2 separate regions of the Homo sapiens genome follow, and region 2 is linked to region 1. Evidence: promoter capture Hi-C in 16 types of primary human blood cells and fetal thymus (Javierre and others, 2016). All regions are on one chromosome and are shown on one strand. Each heading gives the region's core, a stretch centred on a gene start or on the middle of the fragment in contact. The rest is flanking DNA. Distances are from core to core; before and after follow the strand shown.

Evidence for each region. The method cuts DNA at HindIII sites, captures the fragments that hold promoters and counts their contacts. A CHiCAGO score of 5 or more calls a contact.
Region 2: a contact is called between a fragment that was not itself captured here and the fragment with the promoter of LEKR1 in region 1, in 1 of 17 cell types (non-activated CD4 T cells). The highest score is 5.2, in non-activated CD4 T cells.

Annotation. Positions count from the first base shown.
Region 1 is chr3:156,823,813-156,829,318 of GRCh38, reverse strand. LEKR1 (leucine, glutamate and lysine rich 1) reads right to left here and starts at 2,966. Exons shown (of 13, transcript NM_001004316.3): 1 at 2,943-2,966; 2 at 1-33. RefSeq lists a silencer at 1,825-2,119 and an enhancer at 2,434-2,493. The HindIII fragment of the contact is 11,302 bases long and covers 1-5,506 here.
Region 2 is chr3:156,742,356-156,747,861 of GRCh38, reverse strand. It overlaps LINC00886 (long intergenic non-protein coding RNA 886), which reads left to right. Exons shown (of 3, transcript NR_038387.1): 3 at 1-519. Among named protein-coding and RNA genes, the nearest start is that of TIPARP-AS1, 69 kb to the right of the region's middle. The HindIII fragment of the contact is 766 bases long and covers 2,392-3,157 here.

The DNA of each region.
Region 1 (5,506 bases), core at 1,717-4,216:
ATATGGTGAGAGAGCTTTGAAGCCAAAGGAAATCTAAGAACATTGATGGCAACAGTCAGAACAGAAATAATGTAGAGAACATTCAAATTAAGATGCTTTATAAACTCCTAGAAGTATTTGGGGATGAATGGTGATAACTGTTTCAACAGATGCTTATTTCATCAGCTCAATGTTAGAAGGTACAGTTAGGGTTTTCTCCGTTAGTTATTGGGCCAATAGAACAGGAGAGAACTATAGAGACTGCTAAGTTAGAAAGAATATTTTCTCTTTTGTTAGAACTTTATAGTCTAATAATTTCTGTTGTGATTTACTACTAATTGTTTTTCAAATACATAATGACTAAAATTTTAAATACACATTTCAGTGTATTTTAAAAATCAAATATTTTTCTGAAATGCTGCTAGAAAAAGTATGAAAATATAGTATTTTAGCAGATGAAAAAAGCAATTGTGGCATGAATGCTGGATTAAATGATGAAATACAGAAAAAGAGCATTTAGAGATACCATATTAAATATGATATGCAAACACTGAACAGAAGAGTGATCAAAAAATAAGAAGCCAAGTGCCAATTTTATCTAAGATGGACATTTATATAATTTTATGCAGATATTTTACTTTTAACAGATTTTCTTTTTCTAATAAAAGCCATTCAATATAAAGGTCAGTCACTACTTTCATAAAACCAGAGGATAAATGGAGGAGCACTTTGGGTTTTTTGTTTTTTTTTTTAAATCCTTCCCTCACGAGTAAGGGCTGTTTATACATATCTAAGAAGTCAGGAGAAGGGCGAGGGCAGTGGCAGCAGAGTCAGATGATACAGGCACAATTCCATAGCAGGGAAGAAGGCATAGACAAGAGCAGTCTAAGAGTTCAAGAAAGGAAAAGATCTTATGTTTCAGATGAGAGGTGGGAGTTAGTGAAGGCTTCCTGAGGTTGCTTGTATTCAATCAGGGCAGGATTTTGACAAGAGACTGGAGAAGCAAAGTACTCTATCAGAGAGAGCAACCCCGGCCATACAGCAAGGTAGCAGGGAAACCGTAGTTGTCAAAAAGTCCTATAGTGGCATTATCTTTGTAAATGGTGCAACCACTAGTGGAAGAGAAGATTCCTTGTTCCCTGTGTTAGCACAAAGACTCATTTCAGTGAGTTGCTGTTTAAAACCAAAAACTAATGAGCTTTATGTCTTCCCACATAAAACATAATATGACATGTGTGGTAAAGTTAACTGAGGTCTGCAATGGAGGTACCATTAACCATGTCAACATAAGCCCAAACATAATCTGATGTTTGGCAGATTGTCATAATCATGTGGCAAGAGCCCAGAAGGCTCATTATTCTCATTTCTGTCATTTAATGGTGGATTTGCCATCAGTAAAATGAAATAGTAACTTCAACTCTATTGGGAGAATTTTCCAAAAAATTACCATCTAAACATCCTTTTAAAATTTCACCCATAAAGTTATCTGAGAGCACGGATCTAAATGACAGTATAAACAAAGCACCAGTAGAACAGTTTTTGTGTAGTGCCTTCATTGTCTGTGAATCTATTCCAACTTTATGGCCTTAGCATAAGAAGGGGAGGAATTGGCAGGTTCTGATTATCGGGGGGAAACTAAAAATTAAAAGTCCTGCCAACCCAGAAAATGCTCCACAATGCAGAAAGACAACAATTTTATTAGGCATTCAACTAGACTTTGATGCACATCACGGCTAATCTGCTAATGAGGTTACAAAGAGAGAAGGAAATCCCTCTTTTATACAGCCAAGGAGACACAATCCATTACACATTCTCAAGGAAACTGGTAACGTGTCCTCATGTAAGAGGGCTTAACATAGTGTTCTATACATTCTTTTATATTTCCTCTTTAATTCATCTGGTAATTGGGGTAACCACCTGTGTTAGCTAACGGCTTTCCTCCTAAGTAATGCACAGCTCCATAACGAAACAGGTGTTTACAATTAGGAATAACGCACCTAGGTTAAACTCCCAAAGTGACAAGGAGACTGGGGCCCTATCTTCCTTGATGTTTACATTTTAAAGAAATGGCTTCCAGGTCCTCAAGAAAAGCATTCCTAGGTCTTTAAAAACATTTGCATACATATTAAATAGAGGAAGCATTCACAAATACTAAGTTTCTCAAGAAAAAAGAAGGGTCTTTCCCTTTTGGCAACAGGGAAAATCTGTAATTTTTTAAATTTAGTCTTACATAGTTTTGCGTGTGTTATCAAACAAGTCCCTTTAATCCTTTCTCATTGCACGTATGTGGACCGCACTTTGGCAAGAGGTGCAGTGATAAGTGGCTGCAGCTACGTGGGTGTTTGTGAACCTCCTCTCTAACAAGATCACCGAAAAGACATTTTTTAAAATGCAGACACGTCCTTGTTCGTTTCCAATTCCGTTTCTCACACTAGTGTCACGTCAGGCCATTAACTCACGTTCAGCTTTCAAGCCCTTACGTAAAGAACCATTCCCATGGCGTGAATCACCCACAACGAGCAGGTCAGGGGCAGGTGAAGGCGGGAGTTCACATCCTAAGACTTTCCTGAAGCGGCAGGCTCTTCCACACAGAAACCAACCGCAAGGCCAGACAAAACTGCTGGAATGGCTTTCAAATCTGTCCCTTTCTAACCCCGTTCCCCCTGGACCTGCAGTGGCCGGAAGAGGAGGAGGAGGAGGGTGCGGGGGTGAGGAAGCAGAGCCGCGCGTTCCCCGGGGCTGGGAGGAAGGCGGACCGCGCCTGGGCCCCGCGGGCTGGCAGACACCAGGAAGGGGCCGCAGAGGAGCGTGGTGGCGGAGTCCAGACCCGGGGCCTCGTGCTCTCGCTGGGGCGCCGCGGCTCAGCTTTCTGGCTCTCTCCCCGGGTGCGAGCACGCCTCCACTCCGGAACTGCATTTGGAGGACCGGGTCATCCCAGGCTGAGGAAAGCCATCGTCCCTCACCTCGACTTCGACTAGGACGGGTGTGAAACGGCTTTCCCGGTCTCCCGGGCGACCGCGCCGCCAGTCGGCTGGACGTCAGGGCGCGGCGACGTCACGGCCCACGTCTGTCGTCAACGCTCCCCTGCACCGCCCAGGGTCTCACGCGCCGGGCGGAAGTGGGAAAACTGGTGGTGGGGCTCGGAAGGCTGGGCTAGTCTTACGCGGAATGCTGTGAGAGGGAGGGAAGGGGATCGAGGGATGAGGTGGGCGAGAGTGGGTCGGGTGCTTGGTAGCGACTGCTGAGATGGAGGGAGCTGTCCCAGCCTCGTGGGGGGTTGGAGAGAGGCACTGCCGGGAGTCGGGAGTCGGGAGCCTATAGCCCTACCTATCACCCCTTGCTCTGGGGCCTATGTGGTAGACACAGCAGTGAGCAGTTACTGTTCTTGAGCAGAGGAAAAAGAGATGCCTGTAGAGGTCATGGGTGTAAAGGGAAGTTCTGGTTTCAGTCATTACAGCCAGGACAAATTAATTGGGAAGGCGTTGGTGACATTTCCATTCTAGTCCAAAGTAGTGAAGATTAAGGGCTTAGTTCAAAAAGTATTTTGAGACCTCCTAGTCTACACTTTATTTATCGCAGGCTACCCACCCTTACACGTGACTAACTTCCCTTTGTTCATACATTCATTCATAAAACAAGTATTTATAGACCTACTACGCGACAAGCAGAGCAGCATACCGAGATAGGGTGATACTCTGTGACTGGTCAAGGCAGGAGCAGCCATTGGTGTAATTAGCAGGTGACTCATTCGTAGTCCAGATCTTGCCTTTCTGAGGATTATATAAGGTCGAAGTACAGTTCTTCCAAGAACCAAAGAAAACATCGATGGCTCTGTAGCAGGCAAAGAGACTGGTTTGCTATTGAATAAAATAAGATTAAGTAAATACAAAGAAAATTAATTGAACCTATAGATTTAGAGAAGTGATTAAATGACGCAGAGCAGTATCGGTACACCAAACTGCTTATTGATAACTACTAATTAATGACACCAGGAAGTACTGAACACTAGTGCCTTGTTCCTTGGCACTAAAAAGTCTAGTAGATGTGGCTGGGCGCGGTGGCTCGGGCCTGTAATTCCAGCACTTTGGGAGGCCAAGGCGGGCAGATCACAAGGTCAGGAGATCGAGATCATCCTGGCTAACACGGTGAAACCCCGTCTCTACTAAAAATACAAAAAAGTAGCCGGGCGTGGTGGCGGGCGCCTGTAGTCCCAGCTACTTGGGCTACTCGGGAGGCTGAGGCAGGAGAATGGCGTGAACCTGGGAGGCAGAGCTTACCCTGAGCCGAGATAATGCCACTGCACTCCAGCCTGGGCGACAGACCAAGACTCAGTCTCAAAAAAAAAAAAAAAAAAAAAAGTCTAGTAGATGTATCTTGTACATTTAACCTGACTGATATTTTTGCCCCAATGCCTACCCTTGATTTTCTGTTTCCACTCCCTCAAAGAAGAAAGGATTAAGAGGCCTAGAGGACAGTCAACCAAGTGGTCAACTATAACATGCTTATGAGAAGCCCAAATAACTTTCAGAGCTATTCATCCTCGTCATATTTATCTGAGAGATAGTGAGGGTAGGACTGCTCTCATTTTGTGATAATGGAAGTTTAGATACAGGGCACCAAAACTGGTACCTATCTGGGACAGGAATTTGCACACCTAATGCAAGATCACTCTGTTCTGAGGCTAGTTTTCTTTATTGAGTACTTTGTTTATAGGATAAGGAAAGGCAACACTTTAAGGATGGGAGAAAATCCAGCTCAAAGGCTGCAGTTCACTCCTTGGTTTAATTTCATCTGTGTTTATTTGTCTGCATATTGCCTTTGAGACCAATTTCCTTTCCACTGTAAATTTCCCTTAGACCTGCACTGTCCAGTAAGGTGGCCTCATGTAACTAATTTCACTAAAATGAAGTATGTTTAAAAATTCCATTGCTATATTGCATTAGCCATATTTTAAGTACTCAGTAGTCATGTAGGTAATGTATGATACACCATAGATACTGAACATTTTCATTATCATAGAAAGTTGGGCTGGGCGTGGTGGTTCATGCCTATAATCCCAGAGCTTTGGCAGGCTGAGGCAGGAGGATCTCTTGAAGCCAGGAGTTTGAGACTGGCCTGGGCAATATAGTGAGACTCTGTCACTATAAAAAAAAAAAAAATTAGCATGGTGTGGTGACACACACCTGTAGTCTTTACTCAGAAAGGCCTAGGTGAGAGGATCACTTGAGCCCAGGAATTTGAGGCTGCAGTCTATGATCTGGCCACTGCACTCCAGTCTAGGTGACAGAGCCCGACCCTGTCTCTTAAAAAAAGAAAACAAAGAAAAAGAAAGTTGGAAAGCAGTAGACCCCAGTAAGAATTTCAAAGGATAAGAGTTAAGTTGTGATGAATGACATTTTTTAAAGCGTAGCAGCAAAAAGTGTTATTCCTGAAAGAAGATAGTGCAAAGGAAGTGTTGTGACAAGATGTTACAAAATAGGTTTAAGAAAAAAAAAAAAGCCACGAATCCTGTGCCCTATGTTGGTGT
Region 2 (5,506 bases), core at 1,525-4,024, 81 kb after region 1:
AGGGTGATCAGCCCTTCACCCATCAGGCCTTTGCCTCAGGGAAGCTTGACCCCACCTTTAGACCCCATGTTGGGCCTGAGTAGTCCAAAGGCATATCCCATTCCCCTGGCCAGGGATTAGTTTAGGGATAGACATGTGACCAAATTCAGCTCAATAAAATGTGAGTCTGCAGGGGCAATCTAGAAAAAGTGTCCTCTTCCCTAAGAGAAAGCCACAGGAGGGTAAAAAAATGTCTCAGAACATTGTCCTGCCTAAACATGATGCCTCGGACATTCTGCTTCTGTCTTGCTACCTGCAGCACAAGGAAATCCAACACTGAGGGGTCACAGCAGAGGGACGGAAAGCACCTGGATCTTACAACATTGTTGAGCTCTTTTGTCTCTTGACTTCTAGTTATGAGATGTAATTTTCTTACTGTTAAAGTCATTTCTGTTCCTTGCAACCAAAAGCATTCATTGATACACTGAATATAGTACAATATTTATTCAATCAATAAATGCCTGGCAAATTACCCAAGTATGAGTAATTGTAGTTTGTCTCACAGCTATTCTTTCAAGTAAAAGTGATGCTCCATGACAAAAACGGCTAGTTTAGCTTGTAACACAAACAACTGCACAAGTGCTTTTCCTTCAGACAAGTATTGTACTTTCATATGTAACAGATGTATGTGCTTTATGCATGTTCCCATTTCATAACACAGAGTATTAGAAACATGTATACTTCAGGGTTGAGATCTCATAAAATGAGTAGTTTTCACAGCTTCATTGAGGACACTCTTAAATGAAACTGGCAGGTTTTTTTTTTTGAGTACTAGGAAATGGGTGGCAGTAAAGAATACAGTAACTATTAATATAGTGTGGTGCTACTGCCTTGAATTGTGCTAAGGCATCGGCAGTTTTCGTCATCATTGCTTTGACATCATCAGTGCAGGTGTCAATACAGTGAAAAAGGTAAATGGCATCTTGGTGTGATTATGGAAATAGATTGATCTAATGGACCGCCTGAAGTAGGCTTGGCCTCCCCAGGGATCTTAGAGAACTGCTATAGTAGGTGATTACTTGGGAAACAAAATCTCTTAGGAGAAGTTATGGATACAAAATGGTTATTGTTGAGGCCTGGAAGAGACTGAATTATGTGCCATATCATGGTTCTGACTCCTTTATTTGGGTCAATGTCACTATTGCCTCAGTGACTGCCAGCACATGGGGCTGGTAACAGAGGAGTCCTAGGAGTATCCAGGTGCTGAGGTGCTTGTGAGGCCTTAGGCTGGAGGGCACAGCAAATGGGCTCACCCAGTGCTACCAGTTACAGACACATTCACAAGACTGTGAATCCACAACTCAGTTCTTTATTTCCCTCTTCAGCCTGTTAGGTAATTTATCATGTACTCAGCTTAGAAACACACTATTTAGTGTAGTCTGATTTCTGTTTATAATTCTTAAAATACTCTTATTAGTGAAGTCTTCTAAGTTCAGCCTTTTCTTGAGCTAAAATTTCTCCGATGCTGAATAACTATTAAATAATGAATGTGTTGTTTCACTCGGAGGGGCAACAAGATTCCCTCAAGCAGCACCTACCCCCACTGCTTGCCAGAAACAGGCATTTTGGCAACACCACAAAGCACCAACTTTCGAGGTCTCACTGAGCCAGTCCTTGTTTCCAGGAAAGAAAACCCATGTTCTTGAGCCAGAACGAATGCTCTAAAGGCTGAGATTCTCTTTTCTCTTGCTAGAGAGGGAAGAATGACAATGGTTTGCTTGGATTCCTATAGTGGGAAAGCCATCTAGAAATTCTAGCCAGGCAGATATCTCTCACATGGAGATACTGTCCCTTGACTCATGAATGCACTGTGGAATTTGCCCTGGTGCCTTCTGAAGGGTTAAAGAAAAGGATCCTATTCCTTACTAGCAGTGATGCTGAGGCCTGAATCAAATTAGGGAAAAGGCCAGTCATGCTGTTGCCTGCTATATTTACTGAGATAATTTCTTAAAGCACAGAAGCAAGACAGACAATCCAAAAAATCGACATGAACTTGTTCTGCAGAGTAAAGATAGTTTCTGTCTTACTGCATTGCTATGAAAAAAAAAAAATTTTAGATCTGAATGTGGCAAGGAAACAAGCTCCCTAGATCGTCAGAGAAATGACTGAGTTTTAGCAAGTTTTTCCTAATTTTTGACCTAAAATGTTCTTTCCTTCAGTGCCTCCCTGGAGTTTTTGTTTTGTTTTATTTTTGTTTTCTAACACAAAAAAACACCTGCATCACACATTCTTACCCTCACTTTTGTGCTCTGTGTTGGAAACACAGGAGTTGTAATGATGTCTTTGGCTCTGGGCCTCTAAATCTTCATAGTGAATTCATCAAACTCTACACCTCAGGACCAGTCCAAAGCTTGGAAGGGAAAGAGGAGGAAGCAGGGGTTATAAACATACGCCAGGCAATTTTTTTCCCCGTATCTAGGTCATTTTACTTTTCTCTGTGTAAAATGCCTGGCCTTGGTGTTTTTGAGTGTGCATGTAAACTCAGACTTGGCAGTGGGGAACATGCAGTCAAACTTCTACAATATTCCTGGTGATTGGCCTTTTATATCCCTATCCTTGCTACTCCTTTTACCTTGACATTGAACATTTGCTCAGTACTTTAGCTCTTATTATTGTGTTGGTAGAACACCTTTTTCCCCTTAAGCACAGTTCTAGTACATTATTTCTGTGTTGTATTAGAAAAAGGGATGGAGCAATAAGTTGGGAGATTTTGCATCCTAGTTCTGCCATTAAATGGCCATAGATACTGGAAAAGTCATGTTCCTGTTCTGGGCTTCATCTGTAAAATGGGGATTGGAGAGAGGGCTAAATTTCCAGTGGTCCATAGATCTGGTGACGTGGTTTAGATATTTGTCTCCTCCAAATCTCGTGTTGCAATGTGATCCCCAGTGCTGAAGGTGGGGCCTAGTGGGAGGTGTTTGGATCATGGGGGCAGATTCCACATGAATGGCTTGGTGTCATGCCAACAGTAACGAGTGAGTTCTTGATCTATGATCTATTAGTTCACGTGAGAGCTGGTTGTTAAAAGAGCCCAGCACCTCTCCCAACTCTCCCTTGCTTTCCTCTCTCGCGTGTGATACACTGGCTCCCCTTTTGCCTTCTGCTATGAATATAAGCTTCCTGAGGCCGTCACCAGAAGCAAATGCTGGCTGTATGTTTCTTATACAGCCTGCAGAACTCTGAGCCCAATAAGCTTCTTTTCTTAATAAATTATCCAGTCTCAGGTATTCCTTTATAGCAATGCAAAATGGACTAACACAACTAACATTTTTAGCAAAGTCTTCTTTCCACCACTTCCTTCCACTGGGCATTTTAAGACAGCAGTGCTGAGATAGGCTTTTGGGAACCAAAACCTAGAGTTGATGGGTTCTAGGTCCTTGTCAAGCCTAATGTTAGTTTTTTTCTCTCTTTCTCCAAATGTCAGGTTTTCTATCACCCCACCACTTCAATAGTTTGCACTTAATTTACCGAAGCTTCTGTGCTTTCTAGGTGGTTCACATGGCTTCACTCCCCCTAACTCTCCGTGCTATATTCTAAACCTTTCACAGTCTAAAAGACATGGGCATTTGGTAATTTTTAAAGTACCTTCTTCATTTAAAAGAATGAAATGGAGTCTCAGAGAAGTCAGCTGATGGCAAGCTCTCACAAGTTGGGTCAAAGGACAGCAAGTAGGTGAGGCGAAGCCCTGAATTCCTCAAGTAGCACATCCTAGTGGCCGCATGAAGAGGCTTCTGGTGAAAGGGAAGAAAAGAGTGCTGCCAGTTTCTAGGGAAGCAGACGGGCATATGAGTGCTGCCCAGAGCTGCCACACACAGGGCCGCTGAGGGCCAACTTAAGTTCCTACTCCTGTGACCAAGAATGACAAGCTCCCACCTACATTGCTGGCCTACATGTTTGAGACATTCAAGCACTCAGGGAATACAAACATTTACTCTCTGGATGTGCGATGTTAGTGCTGCCTGTGACCAAAGGATGAACTAAAGAAAATAAAATTAAAAAGAAACAGTGAGAGAAGCCAGTTGGCTACCTGTAGAAAAAGAGGGGAATCTTGGTGGTTCTAAGGGAAACAAAGATAACAAACTAGGAAAATAATTCAAGAACACACAGACCAAGTAGTAATATACATGAAAATACAGCATGAAAGAAGATCCCTTCATATAAAAGTTAAACATTGAGAAGAGGATTTTATGTGGTGACTTAAAACTATTACCCCCTTCTATGTTTTCTCCAAGAGGCTAGTAAGGACTCATTTAAAACAAGCATTAGAAATAAGATTTGCCAATAAGATAATTGAAACAATATATAGAAATTGAGACAAAATTCTGGGCACATCTTACCTATATATTTTGTTAAGCCACTATAAAAAAATAGTGACATTTCCAGTTAATATGCTTATCATTCTAAACCTACCATCAGATAACTCAAAATTATAAGGAGTTGGCATCAGGAACTAAAGGAAAATAGCCTATCAGAAAGTCAACAGTGGCAGAACTGCTTAAATATATGGGGCAGCATGATGACTTAAAATCTTAGGTCAATTAATCTGTAATAACCTTGGAGAAACTTTCCTAAATTTTTGTGCCTCAATGTTCTCATAAATACAATGGAACAATACTGTTTCATGGCTCTGTTATGAGGAAATGAATAGCCTAAATTGCCACCACAGTTCTAATTAAAATGTTACCTTGAGTGCAGTGAGCAAAACCTCATCTTTAAGAACCAATAGAAGCTAGGTGTGGTGGCATACATCTGTGGTCCCAGCTACTTGGGAGGCTGAGGTGGGAGGATTGCTTGAGCCCAGGAATTTGAGGCTGCAGTGAGCTATAATCGCGCCACTGCACTCCAGCCTGGGCACAGAGTGAGTCCCTGTCAATAAATAAATAAATAGGAAAAGGAAAAAAAAGTCTTCTGAAAGTTGGCCAAACCACAAGGAAAAAGCAATTCAGTTGAGGGAATAGAGGAAAGGCTGACCCAGCTTTCAGCTTCTATATCTTCCCTTTAATACAGAGACAAGGCAATCATATTTTATAATTTTTATTATGCACTCATTTTGGATGTTTTCCTTATGAATTATAAGTAAGTTTCAGAATTCAGTGAGTTTAAAGAACACATTTCCTTCATAGGCTATGTTGCTTATGGTAATCTTTCACCTGTCATAGGAATGTTTGGCCTATTTAAAGGTTGCAGGTGTGTGAGAACAGATGGTATTGAGAATGGGGACACATTCAGGCTACAAAAAGTCTGCCAAAAGCCAATTTGAGGTTAATGCTTTAAGAGCAATGGTGCTCTTTTCTTTGTCTTTCTCCTCTGTACATGGGGAGCAGGTACTCTACCAGAACCATGTCCTGGAGATTTAATTTGTGTTTTTTTTTCTTTTCTGTTCTTTAGTGAGAGAAGCACAAGATACTACTACCACCTTAGAATCAATGCAGCAAGCTTCCCTGAGAACAGTGGGTATGCAGTGAGT